Regions from separate parts of the Homo sapiens genome. Here region 2 is linked to region 1. Evidence: promoter capture Hi-C in 16 types of primary human blood cells and fetal thymus (Javierre and others, 2016). All regions are on one chromosome and are shown on one strand. The core of a region is centred on a gene start or on the middle of the fragment in contact, and the rest is flanking DNA. Distances in the headings are between cores, read along the strand shown. Region 1 holds the start of QNG1 (Q-nucleotide N-glycosylase 1). Region 2 overlaps RMI1 (RecQ mediated genome instability 1).

The links. The method cuts DNA at HindIII sites, captures the fragments that hold promoters and counts their contacts. A CHiCAGO score of 5 or more calls a contact.
Region 2: a contact is called between a fragment that was not itself captured here and the fragment with the promoter of QNG1 in region 1, in 2 of 17 cell types (naive CD8 T cells and neutrophils). The highest score is 5.3, in naive CD8 T cells.

Annotation. Positions count from the first base shown.
Region 1 is chr9:83,955,338-83,958,425 of GRCh38, reverse strand. It overlaps QNG1 (Q-nucleotide N-glycosylase 1), which reads left to right and starts at 1,684. Exons shown (of 4, transcript NM_032307.5): 1 at 1,684-2,262; 2 at 2,786-3,045. The coding sequence starts at 1,926. The HindIII fragment of the contact is 8,080 bases long and covers 1-3,088 here.
Region 2 is chr9:84,001,337-84,004,424 of GRCh38, reverse strand. It overlaps RMI1 (RecQ mediated genome instability 1), which reads right to left. Exons shown (of 3, transcript NM_001358291.2): 3 at 351-3,088. The coding sequence ends at 1,561. Among named protein-coding and RNA genes, the nearest start is that of RMI1, 22 kb to the right of the region's middle. The HindIII fragment of the contact is 3,800 bases long and covers 1-3,088 here.

The sequences.
Region 1 (3,088 bases), core at 435-2,934:
CTGGAGTGATGAAGATCTGCTTTTCTAGGGTAACAGCTGTCAAATTTAAAAGCTCCATTTGGGGCCAGGTGTGGTGGCTCATGCCTGTAATCCCAGCATTTTGGGAGGCCAAGACAGGCGGATCACCTGAGGTCAGGAGTTCGAGATCAGCCTGGCCAACATGGTGAAAACCTGTCCCTACTAAAAATACAAAACTTAGCCGGGCGTGGTGGCGGGCACCTATAATCCCAGCTACTCGGGAGGCTAAGCCAGGAGAATTGCTTGAACCCAGGAGGCGGAGGTTGCAGTGAGCCGAGACTGTGCCACTGCATTCCAGCCTGGATGACAGAGTGAGACTCCGTCTCAAAAAAAAAGCTCCATTTGGGAGGCCGAGGAGGGTGGATTACCTGAGGTCAGGAGTTTGAGACCAGCCTGGCCCACATAGGGAAACCCCATCTCTACTAAAAATACAAAAATTAGTCAGGTGTGGTGGCTGACACCTATAATCCCAGCTACTTGGGAAGCTGAGGCAGGGAGAATCACTTGAACCGGGGAGGTGGAGGTTGCAGTGAGCTGAGATCATGCCACTGCACTCCAGCCTGGGCGACAGGGTGAGATTCTGTCTCAAACAAACAAATTTAAAAGCTCCGAATCCTCCAAAAATACCAAGATTTTCCTGTCGGTAACTAGAGATGGGTACTGATGATTATTTTTAATAGGTGATTTTCAAAGATGTGAACGTTATCCATGGAGATTTAAGTCTCCAAAAGGAAAAAAAATGCATACCTTTATACTAAAACTTCATCACCAGTCAAATTTGGATCATCACTAAATTGGCTTCTACACCTCTCTCCTAATATAAGGTACTTGTGTAAGTTTGCAGTTGTGAGACACTTATTTCCTCATTTTTAATGTCTTCTCAGTAGGGCCACTGATATAGTCACTATTTGACTGACCAGAATGGTTGGCACTGGTGATTGGCTCATAAAGTGCCCTCGATTTAGGGGGCTCAATTATCAAAGGTTTAAATCCTAGCCCAAACCATTGCTGTGATGGGGGTTAATCAATGAACCACTCAGCTTCACTTGCAAAAGCGGGATCACAATAGCCGCTTTCGTCATGACCCAGCCTAGGTGAGATTTAGTACTTAAGTACACTGCCAGGCACACAAGGTTAATTTAACAATTTAACACATTTGTTTCCTCATCCATTTCTCCAAACCTTCCAACTAATCCTAACGTTCGTTCGGCCAAATGGGCCAGGAATTCACTTAAACAAAAACAAAAAACAAAACAAACAAAAAAACACTCCCTGGGGCTTGGGGAAGGAGGCACCGCCGCCCATGTCGCAGTCTGGGGGTGGCTCAGTCCTCAGCACCCAGATCTACGGCCATAATGCTCTTCGAGGCCAAGGAGCCCGGATGCGGGGCGTTGCCGAAGGCGTCTTGCTCAGGCTGCGGGAAAGGAGAGGGGTGGGAGCGGGGTGGGGGCATCGCGACCCAGGGCAAGGCGGCGAGTCGCCGTCTTCGAGTCCCACCTGTCCGAAGCGGGGTGAGAAAAGGCAAAACATGGCAAAGCCATGCACCTCCCAGGGTGGGCAACTCACGGCCGGTGAACGCCGGACCCTTAGCAGTTTCCAGACCTTTGGAACCGGAAGCGGAGCCTGAGAGCGCGCCCGAGAGGGCGTGAACGGGACCGCTTTCCCGGAAGTGCTTGCGGCCTCTGCCCAGCGAGCTGCCCCGGGGTCTCTCTGGTTTCCTAATCAGGGCAACGCCGCGGGAGAGAACCTTTACCTTGGCTGCACTAAGTTCTCGGTGCCACTCCCTGGCAGGGCGGGACCTTGTTTAGGCCCTGTGATCGCGCGGTTCGTAGTAGCGCAAGGCGCAGAGTGGACCTTGACCCGCCTAGGGCGGGAAGAGTTTGGCCCGCCGGGTCCCAAAGGGCAGAATGGACGGGCTCCTAAATCCCAGGGAATCCTCTAAATTCATTGCAGAAAACAGTCGGGATGTGTTTATTGACAGCGGAGGCGTACGGAGGGTGGCAGAGCTGCTGCTGGCCAAGGCGGCGGGGCCAGAGCTGCGCGTGGAGGGGTGGAAAGCCCTTCATGAGCTGAACCCCAGGGCGGCCGACGAGGCCGCGGTCAACTGGGTGTTCGTGACAGACACGCTCAACTTCTCCTTTTGGTCGGAGCAGGACGAGCACAAGTGTGTGGTGAGGTACAGAGGGAAAACATACAGTGGGTACTGGTCCCTGTGCGCCGCCGTCAACAGAGCCCTCGACGAAGGTTGGTGCCATACTTGCCATCGGACCTAACGGCCTTTGAGGTTTCCATTTACTTGGGGTGTGTGTAGGGGAGTTCCAAGGAGCGGGTTGGGAGATGGAATAATGGAAAGCGAACCTGAAGTTCGTTGCAAGTCCTTATGCTTAAAATAGAAGTATGAAAAGGGGCATATTTTAGTGGAAAATGATGTTAATATTTATCATTGCAGCATAAAAGTTACAGTAGCATAAAAGTCAGTTTTATAAAGAATGCCATTTGAATGACACCTGAAGAACAAAAGGACCGATGTTATAAAGCAATTTACTCAGAATACATCTGATGTAATATTGCAATAGTTAGAAATGGGTGAATAAGTACAGATGAACAAGTAGAAAATGAGTTTTGCTTTAGATTTTTTATTCTTCCACTTTTGGTGCATTCCTATACCACTCATTTGGTTTCATATTAATTCCATGTTGTAAAAGCAAGGGTTTAATGCATATGGAAGTATGACATTGGTCCTCTGAATTTTATTTTTTCACTAAAGGGATACCAATAACTAGTGCCTCGTACTACGCGACAGTGACCCTGGATCAGGTTCGGAATATACTTCGTTCTGACACAGACGTTTCCATGCCTTTAGTAGAAGAGAGGCATCGGATTCTCAATGAAACCGGGAAAATTCTGCTGGAGAAGTTTGGAGGCTCTTTTCTCAACTGCGTCCGAGAAAGTGAGAATAGTGCGCAGAAGTTAATGCACCTGGTGGTTGAAAGTTTTCCTTCTTACAGAGATGTGACTCTGTTTGAGGTGAGTTGCTTCTGTTGGGGATTTTAGAAGTCTTAATCATCTC
Region 2 (3,088 bases), core at 206-2,705, 46 kb before region 1:
GTACGATAGCCAGTCTTTAATGACAATATGAAAAGAAGTTCTAATCCCAATTTTCAAGCCCCATTCACAGAGATGAGAGTATAGAAGGAGAAAATTTAATGAAAAGATAATGAAAGATAAAGCTATCCCATTCAGATCACTTATTAAAAAGCTATGCAAGTATATAGACAAGATTATTACTAGGGCATATATTAGCAATATCTGTGTCCTGGTGCTTTGAACCCTGATACAACAATGAAAATATTTTAAAATCTTTCTCTTCTACTTCTATTATCATACATCATACATGTATTTATCTTACTTCCTGATATTTCGTTACATTATTTTCAATAAAATAAAACACCAATGTATTTTGTTATTTAAGGATTTGTTTAATGTTTTAAAATTCAAAGCACTTTAAATTATTTTAAGACAAAAGATTAATAAAAACAACATTACCTTTCAAATACAACTTTATAACAGCACAGTGGAAGAATGGTAAACAGTCCCTCTTTTTTTTAAAAAAAAATCAGTACTTAAAACCAAAGGAAGGCTTATATGTACAGCTAATTCAGAAAGGGAACAATGACACCTAAAGACATAGATAAATGCTTCATTTTAATCCAATAAATGTCCTACCTACTGGATCTTAATAATGATGTTTTCAATATGCCATTTAAAATAAACTATCCTTGAAAATAAAGTTTTAAATCATTCAATATAATCTATGAAATAGCATCTAGTTAACTAGATTACCTTAAATATACCAAATATTATAATCAGCAAAATAAAAACCAGTAAATCAATTTGTATCTGAAAGCCTGATGTTCTGATCTACTGGATTTTAATTTTTTTTCCCTAAGATTAACAATATAAACAAATCTTTTGGGTACTCAACATATTATGACAAGCTCAGGCATGTTCAGGGTGGTATGGCCATAGACAGTACCAACATATTAGAAGGAAATTACCTATTTATAATTATTAACTTTCAAAAATATGACTCACCACCGAACACCAGTACAATATTTTAGCAATCATCTTATGTGACGTGACAAGTGGAAAACAAATTTCTCAACAATAGTGGGTCACCATATTCCTCCATCTAACAGTTACTTTTAAAAAAAGTAAACTTTGGAGGCCATGACGGCAGGAGTGAGAGGCCAGGAGTTTGAGACCAATCTGGGCAACATAGCAAAACTCTGTCCCTACAAAACAATAATAGTAATTATAAATTAGCTGGGCATGGTGGTACATGCCTATAGTCCCAGCAACTCAAGAGGCTAAGGCAGGAGGATCGCTTGAGCTCAAGAGGTTGATGCAATAACCTATGATCATGCCACTGCACTCTAGCCTGGGCAACAGAGCAATACCCTGACATTAAAAAAAAAAAAAAAAAGATTAACTTATTTTCAAAAGCTCCACATATAACAAACATGATTAAACACTTTAAAATTAAACTGAAATAAGCTATGAAATTTCATTTTTCCTTTTTACACAAAGTATCATAAGTAAAATTGTGAACAAATTCTAAATATTTCCTTGTTGTTTTTAATTGTTCCTAATACTATTTTAGTTTAATTATTTATTTAACCGCTTCTTTAGATTCTCAAGGTGTTCCATATTAACATCTTGTAATGCCAGTACCATTGCTTTAGACAAGGAAGGATTAAATGAAATAGTCATTAGACAGCACAAATCTATTAGATCTCTTTGACATTTCTGCAACCCTTCCAGGAACTTTTGGTATTGAAGAGGATCCTTTTTTGACTGTTTCATTTCTGGTACTGAGAACCCTATCAAGCTAGTAAGTATTTCATCCACAAAGTCTACATCTAGATATGCAGTACCATCAGACACCTTTGCAGTTATACTCCAAATACCACCAGAACTTGAGAGATTTCCAGTTAAGGTTACAATAAATGCTTTCACTTTCACTGTTGTAACTTCCTTTGGTTTGCTGGCCATTAGAACAGACAAATAGACAAAGGGTGGAGAATACAAATCCATGGCAATAGAAAGATTAATGCTATTCTCTGATGATCTTAAAGAACAACTCTGTAAATTACAATCATTTTCATTAGAAATTTGTGAATTCCTTTTCTGTACATAGTTGACCACCTCTCTATTTAATATTTTATTATTTAAGGAATGGCTATCTGAACTGCTGGTTTGTTTTATTTTATTATCTGTCTCTAAGTTCTTTTCTTTATTTGTAAAATCATGGGCTAAGGGTACATTACAATGAACTGAAAAAATACTCCTGTTTTGGTCTCTAACAGATGGACAACCAAATGATTTGTCTTCATTAGTCATTTGTTCAGATACATTTTTTTCACTCCAATTATTGTTTCCATTTTTGCAAGTCAAAGAAAAGTTATTCGTAGTATTAGGATTATGTGAAAATCTCTCTATACTTCGATCGGCATTTCTGTTAAAAGTCAATGGTTGCAATTCCTTAGTTTCCATCTGTTCTTTCTGGACAGTTTCTTCTAAAAGCAAGGCCTCCTCCAGTGAAAAGTCATCTAATTCTCCATCCATTACATGTATAGATAGGTTTGATGGTTCCTCTTTTGGTCTTGGAGAAATAACAAATTCTGGCTCAAAACTTGACTGTCTTGTGGGAATGGTATTTGAGGAACTACCTGTGGTGAAACATCGTTCTGAGGAAGTGTCATTATTTGCTGTAAGCTCATCATTTTCATCAAGACTTGCCAAGAGTTCTTCATCAGAAGGACCTAATGCAGGATCTAGAACATCTGTAACTCTGGGAATGTTTTCGTTAGAATTGTTTGGTATGACTGAAACTACAAGATCAGGTTCCCCTATTAATCTTGCAAGTACTTTTTCTTGGGCATATTCTTCTAAAAGAGCATCTACTTCACCTCCTAACACTTTCACGTTTTCTGGTTTCAATAAGAGAACACCAAGACGGAAAGATATATTTCCATAAATCAAAATTTTTGTACCTGGAGGAAGATCACTATGAAGAATTGGAATAGGCTGATATTCCATTCCCTGTATTTGTACGATTCCATCAGTTAGCTGCAGCATCAACATTCGTGAAGGCTTTGCTTCCCAAGGTTTTGGGGTTACTTGTGCTTCAGCT